Regions from separate parts of the Homo sapiens genome. Here region 2 is linked to region 1. The links are contacts of gene promoters, found by promoter capture Hi-C in blood cells and fetal thymus (Javierre and others, 2016). All regions are on one chromosome and are shown on one strand. Each heading gives the region's core, a stretch centred on a gene start or on the middle of the fragment in contact. The rest is flanking DNA. Distances are from core to core; before and after follow the strand shown.

Region 1 (6,074 bases), core at 2,297-4,796:
ACAATGCTATATGGGAGACACACACCTCAACAAATATTTTTGGTGCCTCTACTGAGGCAGACACCGTGCTGAACACTGGGATGGTTACAAAGATAAGGAAGATACTGTTCCTTCCATAGACAAGGAGAGAGAGACACACATTGTGAGCAAATTTGGGTGTGAAATGCTAAGGAAAATTAGTGTCCATTTCTTCCTGTAGTAGCAGAGAGGACAGGTGCCCTATCTGGAAAGACAGGCTTCCCCAAAGAGCTGATAGCTGAGTTCAGTCTTGAAAGCGAGTAGTTCTCAGAGTCAGGCGCGGTGGCTAACGCCTGTAATCCCAGCACTTTGGGAGGCTGGGGCGGGTGGATCACCTGAGGTCAGGAGTTCAACACCAGCCTGGCCAACATGGCAAAATCCCGTCTCTACTAAAAATACAAAAATTAGGCTGGGTGCCATGGCTCATGCTTGTAATCCCAGCACTTTGGGAGGCCGAGGCGGGTGGATCACGAGGTCAGGAGTTCGAGACCAGCTTGGCCAACACAGTGAAACCCTGTCTGTACTAAAAATACAAAAATTAGCTGGGTGTGGTGGCAGGCACCTGTAATCCCAGCTACTCGGGAGACTGAGGCAGGAGAATCGCTTGAACCCAGGAGGCAGAGGTTGCAGTGAGCCGAGATCACGCCCCTTTACTCCAGCCTGGGCGACAGAGCTAGACTCTGTCTCAAAAAAAAAAAAAAAACCAAAACACCAAAAAAAACCCAACAACAAAAAATTAGCCGGGTGTGGTGGCGCATGCCTGTAATCCCAGCTAGTCAGGAGGCTAAGGCAGGAGAGTTGCTTGAACCTGGGAGGTGAAGTTTGCAATGAGCCAAGATCATGCCATTGCACTCCAGCCTGGACAACAAGAGCAAAACTCTGTCTCAAAAAAAAAAAAAAAAAGTGAGTAGTTCTCATGGTTAAGTGGGGAAAGGAGGGCACTGCATTCTAAGCAGAGGGAACAGCATATGCAAAGGCACATGAGAAGACAGGCGCATATTTGAAGAAAAGTGGTTCTCCAAATATGGTTGGAGCCTGCATTGCCTGGTGGGGAGTGTCCCAAGAAGCAGGTAAGGACCAGTCTGTGCCAGATTAAAATGTCTGGGCATTACCTAAGGGCAGGCAGTAGGAAGTTGCTAAGCAGAAGAGTTACACTGTAAGGTTTCTGCTTTTTTTTTTCTTTTTTTTTTTCTTTTTTTTTTTTTTTTTTAATGAGACAGGTTTCTCTGTGTTGCCCAGGCTGGTCTTGAACTCCTGGGCTCAAGCAATTCTCCCACCTCAGCCTTCCCAGTAGCTGAGATTATAGGTCTCTGCTTTTCAGGAGATAGTGGGTGGGAGCCGGAGAGTCTGGAGGCAGGAGGCCAGAGAGGAGGCAGGCAAAACAGAACAGGGCAAAGTGATGAGGTCTCACCTTAAGCAGGGGCAGTAGGAAGGGAAATAAAGTGCGCCCCTTCCTGACCTTCATCCTAGAGTTTTCCTTTTGATTTCTTTGCCTCAAGAAAATGGGCCAGGCGCACAACTAAAGTTGGCAGTTTGTTGTGACAGGCCCTTGTTCTGCTTCCAGAAGATAGATCCCTCTGTGTCTTGAAGATATAGCCTGGCTCTGTGTGTCGAGGTGGGGGACAGGAGGGCTGCCATGTCATGGAAAAAGAAAGGCCTGATATGTACTAGCCATACGTCCCGTGATTGAAAAGGCATATGAACAATAAAAGCCTCAATTTCCTCATCTCTAAAAGGGGAGATCATGTCCCTTGCTCTGTGTAACTCAATTTTTTGTTCATTCCTTTGTTTATTCATTCAATAGTTATTTATGGAGCACACACAATGTGCCAGATTCTGTGCTAGGTGCTGGAGATACGGTGGTAAACAATATAGAACCCACCCCTGCCTTCAAGGAGCTTGCTGTGAGGATAAATGAAATGATTATGAAATCACTCTGTTAACTATACTGCATGGGTCTCATTGTTTTTCTTTTTTTTTTTTAGAGACGGGGGATCTTGCTATGTTGCCCAGGCTGGTCTCGAACTCTTGGGCTCAAGCAATCTGCCGCCTCAGCCTCCTAAAATGCTGGGATTACAGGAATGAGCCACCATGTCCAGCCCATTTCTTTCTCTCTCTCTCTCTCTCTTTTTTTTTTTTTTAGAGACAGGGTCTCACTCTATCACCCAACCTGGAGTATAGTGACACAGTCATGGCACTGCAGCCTTGACCTCCCGGACTCAAGTGATCCTCTCGCCTCAGCCGCCCAAGTACAAGTGCTCATTACCATGCCTGGCTAATTTTTTTCTTTTAATTTATTTTTTGTGGAGATGGGGTCTCACTGTGTTGCCCAGTCTGGTCTTGAGCTCCTGGCCTCAAGTGATTCTCTGGCCTCAGCTTCCCAAAGTGTTAGGATTATAGACAAGCGTGAACCACCACACCCAGCCCTATTTTTCTATTTCTCATCTCCCAATAAGATTGCAACCTCAACTAGGGCTACCTACGTAGGCCTAATCAGAAAACCTGAGTTTAGTCTTACTTCTTTGTTTCCTTCTCTCCATAGCCTCATTGAGCAAGGCACTTCCCCTCTCTAGATGATTCGTTGTTCATATTCAGCCCAAGGTCTATGATTGCTGTTTTTGTTTTTAGAGACGGAGTTTTGCTCTTGTCTCCCAGGCTGGAATGCAGTGGCACAATCTCGGCTCACTGCAACCTCTGCCTCCCGGGTTAAAGCAATTCTCCTGCCTCAGCCTCCCAAGTAGATTACAGGCATGCGCCACCACACCCAGCTAATTTTTGTATTTTTAGTAGAGACCATGGGCAGGCTGGTCTCGAACTCCTGATCTCAGGTGATCCGCCCGCCTCGGCCTACCCAAAGTGCTGGGATTACAGGCGTGAGCCACAGCGCCCAGCCGATTGGTTTCAACTATTAGAAGAAGGGATAAACTGGCCCGGAGCGGTGGCTCAAGCCTGTAATCCCAGCACTTTGGGGGCGGGCGGATCACCTGAGGTAAGGAGTTCAAGACCAGCCTAGCCAACATGGTTGAAACACCGTCTCTAGTAAAAATACAAAAATTAGCCAGGCGTGGTGGCAGGCGCCTGTAATCCCAGCTACTCGGGGGGCCGAGGCAGGAGAATCGCTTGAACTCGGGAGGCAGAGTGTGCAGTGAGCCGAGATCGCGCCATCGCACTCCAGCCTGGGGGGACAAGAGCGAGACTGCGTCTCAAAAAAAAAAAAAAAAAAAAAAAAAAAAAAAGGAGGGATAAGCTTCTGGGAGAAAAAGTTCCGGGTAAAGAAATCTCACTATAAAAAAGAAATAGTAGCAGAAACAGCTGGGAACTCCTAGACACACTTAACTTTCTTAGGTATCCCTTCCAGTCTCCTCCCAACCACTCCTTTCCTATTTCATTTCCACTCCCCACCTTTAGTAGCTGCGGTCTCTTTAAGTGCGCACTTTCGGTGTAATGATAGGCGATTGGGCCAATAAAGCGTTTCGTCCTGGAGTTAACTGGTTTGTCCCTTTCGGGCTGCCGTCCTACAGATCCGCCATATTGTCTACTGAAAGCTGCCGCTGAAGCTGCCGCCGTTGCCTCCGCCGCCAAGAGTGAGCGAGCGGACCCGCGATGGGTGAGTGAGGAAACCACGCAGTAGGGTTCTTGGGCTCAGGGAGTGTCGGGGCCTGGGATTTGGCGAGAGCCTGTCTCCGGTCTGCGGAAGATGTCTGCATCCCCTCTAGCTAGGTCTGAGGGGAAAAGTCAGGCCGGGAGTGCCCCTCTTGCCAGTTTTGGGCCGAGCTAGGGCCCGTGCTGGAAGCAGTCCTTTGGTGCTGGTTTCGGGGACACCTTGGCACGCCTGGAGCCCCCCACATGGTGGCCTCGGGCAGGAGCCCACGTGTTCCTGGGAGGTAGAAAGGGGCCTACTCTCTGTCCTGCGCCCAGACTGGGGCTGGGGGACGGGCTCCCGGCGGCAGGCCTGGGCGGCGCTAAGGTAGCTTTCTCCTGGGTTGTGTTTGGCCAACGCGTGTCTTGACTAGATTCAGTGGCTCCCCTGAACTCAGGGAAGTCCTACCTACGTAGCGAGGTGGAGTCCTCTAGTGAGGGGACGTCAGGCGAGCCAGCACTAGGCCGGTAAGCATGGGCAGCCAGGCCGAGGGCAGCTTGCGCCGCTGAAGGCCGGGAGAACGGAATCAAGGCGGAAATAGTGTGGTTCGGTTGGGCTCAGAGTGGCATCGCTTGTGATGGTAGAACACCAAAGGCCAAGTCCTCTTGGCCATCTTTAGGTTGAGGACTTTAGGTTTCTGGGCTGGCCCTGGTAAGGAGAAAAGGAGCGACCTGTTGATCTTTCTGAGGGGACTCCGGCTGGCAAGGCCTCTGTTCAGAGAGAATACCATGGCGAAGTCTTTGGATTTAGAGACAGAACCAACAGTGGTAATTCCTCTAAAGCAGTAAAAATTGTGAAATTTGCTAAGCTCTTTCTACGTACGGGCATTGTTCTGATTGCTTTACATGTCTTGTTTTACTTAATTTGTACAACCTAAGGAAATAGATGCTACCATTGCCATTTTACAGATGTGGAAGCTGAGCTTTAGAGAGGTAAAGTAACTTACCCAAGGTCATGCAGTGGCTAAGCCAGGGTGAACACTCCCAAGCCTAGTTTGTAACTGCTGTTTGTTGTTGTTGTTGATAGAGTCTTGCTCTGTCGCCCAGGCTGGAGTGCAGTGACGCGATCTCGGCTCACTGCAACCTCCTGCCTCCCGGGTTCAAGCGATTCTCCTGCCTCAGCCTCCCGAGTAGCTGGGATTACAGGCACCCACCACCACGCCCGGCTGATTTTTGTGTGTTTTTGGTAGAGACAGGGTTTCGTCATGTTGGCCAGGCTGGTCTCGAACCCCTGACCTCAAGTGATTCGCCTGCCTCGGCCTCCCAAAGTGCTGGGATTACAGGTGTGAGCCACTGCGTCCAGCCTGTTTTTTTGTTTTGTTTTTTTTTTTAAATGACCTGGCCCTCTAGTGGTTGGGCAGGGAGAAAAGGGGAAAAAAGCTTTTAACCCTAGGCAAAGTTGTAAATGTGTTTGGGTTTTCTGTTTGTTTATTTTGTTTTGTTTTGCTTTTTGTTTTTGCATGTGGGCCCATTATGAAATCTTTTTTTTTTTTTTGAGACGGAGTCTGGCTCTGTTGCCCAGGCTGGAGTGCATTGGCGCGATCTCGGCTCACTGCAACTACCACCTTCCCGGGTTCACGCCATTCTCCTGCCTCAGCCTCCCGAGTAGTTGGGACTACAGGTGCCCGCCACCACGCCTGGATAATTTTTTTTGTATTTTTTTGTATTTTTAGTGGAGACGGGGTTTCACCGTGTTAGCCAGGATGGTCTTGATCTCCTGACCTCGTGATCCTCCCGCCTCGCCTTCCAAAGTGCTGAGATTACAAGCGTGAGCCACCATGCCCGGCCACTTTGAAATCCTTTTTCTGAACGAAACTGAAGGAGTCCAGAGTGAATTGATAACTCTAATTATTGTGTGTGGGGCAAGCAAAATGAGAATCTGGAATTGAATTTTTTTTTTTTTTTTTTTTTTTCTGAGAAGAAATTTCACTCTTGTCTCCCATGCTGGAGTGCAGTGGCCAGATCTCGGCTCACTGCAACCTCTGCCTCCCGGGTTAAAGCAATTTTCCTGCCTCAGCCTCCTGAGTAGCTGGGATTACAGGCATCCACCACCACACCTAGCTAATTTTTGTATTTTTAGTAGAGACAGGGTTTCACCATGTTGGCCAAGCTGGTCTCGAACTCCTGACCTCTGGTGATCTGCCCGTCTCGGCCTCCCAAAGTGCTGGGATTACAGGCATGAGCCACCGCGCCTGGCCTGGAATTGGATTTTTAAAGATCTGAGATTCTAAGGAAGCAGAAATTATTCACTTGAGCTTCAAGGCAATGACTGTAGAATCAGATCTGGTATTGGAAGTCACTTAAATGTCAGACACAACAACACATATGGAAAGCATCTAGCACAGTCCACAATAATGTTTTTCTTCCTTTCTGAGCCTTCCTTTTCTGACCTCTAGAAAGAAGGGGTGGGGCTGTGT
Region 2 (6,428 bases), core at 1,445-3,944, 460 kb before region 1:
AAAAAAAAAAAATATCCATGGCCGGGCACGGTGGCTCACATCTATAATCCCAGCACTTTGGGAGGCCGAGGCAGGCAGATCACCTGAGGTCAGGAGTTCAAGACCAGCCTAACCAACATGGTGAAACTCTGTCTCTACTAAAAATACAAAAATTAGCTGGGCATGGTGGCTTGTGCCTGTAGTCCCAGCTACTCCGGAGGCTGAGGCAGGAGAATCACTCGAACCCTGGAGGTGGAGGTTGAGTGAGCCAAGATCGCACCACTGCACTCCAGCCTGAGTGACAGAGTGAGACTCTGTCCCCCCACCTCCAAAAAAAAAAAAAACTAGTCTTGTAAAGGGGTTAACAGACCCCAGATGAAGAAAGAGTCTAATTAGATTCTGTTGAATTTGAGTGACAGAGGAAAATATTATGACAAAAAATGAAGATTTAAATTCCAGAAGCATCAAAGTTTAGATTTTTCTCTGCAGAATAAATACACAGCAGCCTTTTCTCCATCTTATTGAGCAGAGGGTTTCTCAAATTAAGGACCCTCCAGTCCCATCCTTCACACTGCCATCAGCGAACTCCCCACTCGGCAAACCTGACTTGACACACCTTTGTGAGAAACCCACCAGTGGCTTCCAACTGTCTTCCCTGCTCATGCTCCAAAATCCAATCACACTGTCCTGTCTCCCGTCACTCAGCCTGCTGCAACCAGTCATTTCTGGGCCTTGGCACGTGCTGTTCCCTCTGCCTGAATCCATCTCTTCGTCTAGACATGGTTAGGTTCCCCAGCTGTGCACTCCCCTGTACCTGGCACTGCCCTATCATCCCACTTTATTGTAGGTGCTTGTTTAACTGTCTGCTCTCCCTGTGGATGCTGTGGGAGCAGGGACCATATCTGTCTAGTTTGCCTTGGGATCCCCAGAGCCTAGTACAGTCCCTGGGACAAAGTAGGAAGAGGAATGGACTCATCAAGTTAGACTTTTCCAATCTGAATGATCTGTGTGCTGCCTGGAAAGCCTGGAGTAGGTTAAGAAATGAAGACAGAAGGATAATGGGGTTGGAACGTGCAAAAGCTGCCTAAGAGGAATGGACGACACATGCCCCTCCTTGCTTTCTCTTCAGCTTACCCAGCTCCTGAACTGATGAGCAAGATCCATGGATTTCTTGCTGACCACAGTAACAGAAGAGACTATAAAATTCAGCTTTCCATCTGGTTCTTCATGGTCCAAGAAAATACAGCAATTTCAAACTCCGGGGAGACATGCATTCAAATCATGAAAGCTTAAACCTAGCCTGTCGTAGAATCCCTTAAGAGTAGCATGAATTTGACTCAGGAAGAAAAGTGAAGAAGGCATCATTTACTCTATAAGGATCAATTCCCTGGTGACCCTTAAAGGGGATGAGTTGGATGTTTCCTCATAGCAGTTTTTCCCCTCTGGCCTTCAAAGCCAACCTGCTCAATTCCACAGCTGGTCCTTGCGTCTCTTTCTTTCTGCCAGCGCCAACATGCTCCTCATGAGAAGGCCTATCATCAGCTAGTACTCGGCAGACTAGGCTGAAAGAGGAAGCTGGCCTTCCAATGGGAGTGCTTTAACATCTGTCCTCTTCCACTGTCCAAAACCTGGCTGCTACTTCAGTACAAAAATGATGCCTTTGCTTTTTAATGTTTTATGTTAGAACCAGGGTTAACTGAGAATAGCTGGGGAGGGATGAAAAAAGAATCAGCGCCTCCTTTATCTAAAAACATCACATGAGACACTCGGGCATGCTCAGGAGTCTGATTTCATTCTTCTGGCCACCAGCACACCTTTGCTCCTGGCAGGAAAAAAAAAAATAGGGCAAAGGTTCTGAAAAGCCATCAATAGGCTGGTCTCCTGGTATTTGGGACCCAACTAGAGAAGGGAGTTTTCAGAAATGTGCTAGAAATACCAGCTCTGCAGAGATTTGACAGCCGGTTTGAAGGCTTCAGGCAGTTTGGATAAGCATCTAGACTTTGGGTACATTTCTGAGCCTGCTCTGTGAGTCCTTTGAAGTGTATCCAACTTGAATAAACCTTCCAGATAGCTGGGGCCAGTGAAAAAGCTTTCTTTGGAAATCCCCCTGGAAGTGCCTTGTTGCTTTCTCACAGGGCAGCCAGCCCATCAGGACAAGAGATCTAAAAAGTAGAGAAGGAAGAAGCTCAAGAGAGAATGTTTCTATAATATTCAATTCACTGTCTTTTTTCCCCTTCCTAGCCTTTTTTACATAGGGAGAAGGACACAACAGATAGATCACCAAACTCCCAGTGGACTTTGAGGACCGTGAGCTTAGATCTGCTCGTGGCTTGCCCATGAACTCTTTGTACTGATACAACCTGGCTGTTTCTAAAGGCCTAGGCTAAGATGTACAGGAAAAGTACCACGTATATTAGAATAATAAAGAAAAACAGGAGATGTTATTTGCCCTCCAGAAAGTCATTGCTGGAAGCACTTATAGAGAGCTAGTGACCATGCATTGGTACAGGCAGAAGGTTCCATCTCATTTCCCAGAGAAGCATTCCCTGGATGCCTAGGACAGAGCTGGAGCCTGTCTTCTCTCCTGTTTGCACAGGTATTCTAATCACAGAATTACTGGAGCATCAAGAAGTGCCTGCATGCTTGGAAGGGCTTCCAGGCAGATGAACACACCTCAGCACCGGGTGGCATTTTCCCAGGGTGCAACCCGGACCGGCTCTGGGTCACACTGACAAGGTGAAGTGGATGGGCAAAGAGTGGGTGGGGTACTGAACACGGGTTTCTTTAGGGAATCAAATAGGGAGGGACCTTTAAAGCAGGAAGTGGGACCTTCCAACGTGCTTTGGTTCACTTGAGAGAAGAGGCTGAGTGATGCTCCTTCTCTAACTCAAGAGACGTAGGCATGAAGAACAGGGCACAAGATCCCGAGGAGCAAAGGGTCATCAGCTGCCCCCATCCAGCAGAATCTCACAGCACCACTGGCTGACCACAGGCAAGGAGGGAAATACCCTTTATTTTTTAATTTTTATTTTTCGGAGACTGAGTCTCATTATGTTGCTTAGACTGGTCTCAAACTCCTGGGCTCAGGCGATCCTCCCACCTCAGCCCCTTGAATAGCTAGGATTACAGGTATATGCCCCTGTACCCAAAATGCCCTTTTTTGTTCCTGGGACTAAACGGGAAAAGGAGGGCAACAGGGAGCTCTGGCTGCAGCACCAGAGGAACCCACTGGAAGGGAAAGGGCAGATAGTTTTGTTTCTTTATTATTTAAAAAATATTAACAGCAATTAAAAACAACAACAACAACAAAAAAAACATTCACAACCTGTCACAGAGTCCTATAAGCTTTGGCCATTTATTCCCAACGGAGTCTTTCATCCAAAGGCAGGTGGGGAATTTCAGCCAAAAGGCCCCTTCATGGTTTTCATGGGTGGGTACTGCTGCTCCATCGGCATGGCCCCAAAGCAGTCAGAGGGATTACAGTGGCCAGCCTTGCCTGGCTGGCCCATGGGACCCGGGGGCCCAGGGATGCCAGGGATGCCTTGCTGGCCCATTGGTCCTGTTGCACCCATCTTGCCATAGCCTGGAGGACCTTGAGGACCTAGGGAGGGAAGGGCCACAGAGGGAAAATCAGAAGACCCAGATCATAAGGGAAAAGAAGCCATAATGGCATCAAATAATACCTTACATTTGATGACTGTTTCTCAAGTTACCACATGTTTTCATGAAGACCTAGTCTGATCCTCACGTTGATTTAACAATAACAATACTGCTGGCAAGTTTTATTTAGAACTTCCATGTGCCAGGCACAGGGCTGAGTGCTTTTGATGCATTATTCATTGAATCTGCACAATTTCCTGAGAAAGAAGCTATTGTCTAATTTTGTAGATGAGGACACAGGCTCAGAGAGGTTGCACCTCTGGTAAGTTGTGATGCTGGGTCTCAGAGCCAGGTCATCAGGCTTTGGCCATCCTCTTTCAGGCTATATAGCCAAACATTCATCGTAGAGAGCACTTCCAAAGGGCTTAAGTGGCCTCTTCAAGGTGTACAGCCAGTGAGGTGCTGAGTAGAACTTGAACTCGAGTTCCTCATCCCCACCTCCATGCAGCTCTCTCCTACTGCATCATGCTAGCCCAGTTTAGGACTTAAGGACAGGTACTGAGTCTTCCGCCCCCACATCCCCACAGGCCCTGGCAGAGTGTCTTGCACACAGTGGCATTCCTATAAATGTGGTTGACTGGCCTGTCGTTATTTGGAGTTTGACACAGCTGTGTCATAGAAGAAACAGAAAGAAAAGGGGTCTCTGCTGCTCTGGATTCATGGTCTCAAATGGTGGTATTTCCTACCTGGGGGGCCGGGAAGACCATTTTCTCCTGCAATGCCAATACCAATGTCCCCTTTTTCACCTTTGGTACCAGGCAATCCTGGAACAAAAGAAATAAATAAGTCCTATCCCTGAGCAGAAAAATGACACAGCCAGTCAGATTACTTGAAACACACACACACACACACACACACACACATACATCCCATATTCACAACAGACCTCATGGAATACTTAGGCCTGCCCCAAAGAATTACATGTGTCCCTTGGGAACTGTAGGGCAGAGCTACCTCTTACTCCTGGCAAGCCCTGCCGTCCTTCTCTGCCAATCTGACCAGGGAGCCCAGGTGACCCTGGAGCACCTGGCCTGCCCGGAGCACCATCCTTCCCTGGAGGCCCTGGTCGTCCCGGAGCTGCCGCCATCTCCATGGGGAACTGCATCCTGGAGGTGTAGTAAGCCATTCTCTCTGTAAAAAAAGGACAAGGACAGGGACAGGTCAGAGGGTCCCCCAGGGACTCAGAATGACTGCAGATGCTGCATATAGGCCACCAGCATGAAGTCCACAGCAGCCTTCCTTCACAGGGATGTCAGGGCAAGGAGTATGGGGGTGGGTCTCGCAAGGGGGTTCCCACGTCCTGGCCTCCACGTCGCTCCCCATGGAGATCCTTCCAAAGCACAGATCTGACTATGGCATCTCTGCTCCAACACCCCTCATTAGTTCACCGCTGGCTTCAGAATAAAGTCCGCATTCCTTGCTTGGCATTCAAGGTCTGCTTCCCAAGCAAGACGTCCAGCCCTTTCAGGACAGGGCCTGTGTTTTCCCCAGTCCCTGGCACATCAATGTTGGATGAACAAATGAACAGAAAAAAACACTTCAAATAAACCACCCCAGCCATCTTACAGTGCCGCTCGCCCCTGTATTTAGAGCTCACTTCAGGCAGACTCGTTTAATACCAATTTTCTTGTCTGTCTCCTTTGCTCAAGTGGGGGCTCGGGGAATGCAGGAGGGAATCATTTTATCTCTGAACAGAACAGGTGACAAGGAAGGTCTGAAGGATAATTGAACATCTGCCTGTCAACCCCAGGCCTGTGAGTGTGTGGAGGGTGAGAGCAGGAGGACATTGAGCGTTAAGGAGAAAGAGGCCAAGGCAGGGCAGAGAAGTCACAAGGAAGGGCAGACAGCACCCACTGCCACCCAGCTGGCTGCCAGTTACCATCAAACATTTTAATGATCTCTTGTCTGATGAACCTCTTGATTTCATCATAATTCACCATGTCTCCCTGAAGAAAGAGAAGAAAACCTGCCTCAATTATACTTCCAAGCCTGGCATTTTCCCCTATGGAAATAAAGGATGGGGAGGAAGGCAAAGGTCCCAGGAGCCTCCCACAGATTCTTTTTTTTTTTTTTTTTTTTTTTTTTTTCTGAGACAGAGTCTCACTTTGTCACCCAGACTGGAGTGCAGTGGCGCGATCTTGGCTCACAGCAACCTCCGTAGATTCTCAATCCAAAGTCCTAACCACCCAGATATGATACAAAACATTTTGTTCTTAAGTGCATTTTTCTGGGGAGAGGGTCCTATCATCCCCACCCTTCCGCACACAGTTAAGAGCTGCCCTCTATGGGAGCCAGGCTCTTTCCCACAGAATGTCAGCAGGAGCTTGGAAGATGATCCGAGCTCCACCCCACATGCCTGCTCTATGGGACAGTGCCCACAGCTGCCAGCCTTCCCCCTTACCATGGAGCCAGGCACACCAGGCAAGCCAGGGCTCCCCGAAGGCCCCGGAGCTCCAGGGTGGCCTCTCTCTCCTGCAGGGCCCGGTGGCCCAACAGGCCCCATGGAACCACTCTTGCCAGGTCCACCAGGCATGCCGGCTCTCCCCTTCTCTCCTGCCTGGCCCTTCTGTCCTGCAGCTCCTGGATCACCCTACAAAGATAGATACTTAGTGCTGTCAAATTTACATCATGATGTCTCACCAATCTGCTCTTTTCTCTCCACCCTCCCACCAGGCCCCCAGCGTCTCCCTCTAGACTGTGGCCACAGCATCCTGACAGGTCACTCCACCTCACTGCCCCAGAGTGGTCCTTCTAGAAGACAGTTCTCCTGGTGTTACTCCCTGCTTAGA

The links. The method cuts DNA at HindIII sites, captures the fragments that hold promoters and counts their contacts. A CHiCAGO score of 5 or more calls a contact.
Region 2: a fragment that was not itself captured here is called in contact with the fragment with the promoter of KPNA6 in region 1 in 1 of 17 cell types (fetal thymus); the score reaches 5.1 in fetal thymus.

What each region holds. Positions count from the first base shown.
Region 1 is chr1:32,104,510-32,110,583 of GRCh38, forward strand. It overlaps KPNA6 (karyopherin subunit alpha 6), which reads left to right and starts at 3,547. Exons shown (of 14, transcript NM_012316.5): 1 at 3,547-3,625. The coding sequence starts at 3,622. RefSeq lists enhancers at 3,241-3,759, 3,373-3,802, 3,760-4,277. The HindIII fragment of the contact is 1,772 bases long and covers 3,264-5,035 here.
Region 2 is chr1:31,649,274-31,655,701 of GRCh38, forward strand. COL16A1 (collagen type XVI alpha 1 chain) reads right to left here. Exons shown (of 71, transcript NM_001856.4): 67 at 6,041-6,229; 68 at 5,519-5,585; 69 at 4,594-4,770; 70 at 4,326-4,403; 71 at 2,990-3,580. The coding sequence ends at 3,378. PEF1-AS1 (PEF1 and COL16A1 antisense RNA 1) reads left to right here. Exons shown (of 6, transcript NR_184313.1): 3 at 2,576-2,715. Among named protein-coding and RNA genes, the nearest start is that of PEF1, 7.6 kb to the left of the region's middle. The HindIII fragment of the contact is 1,256 bases long and covers 2,067-3,322 here.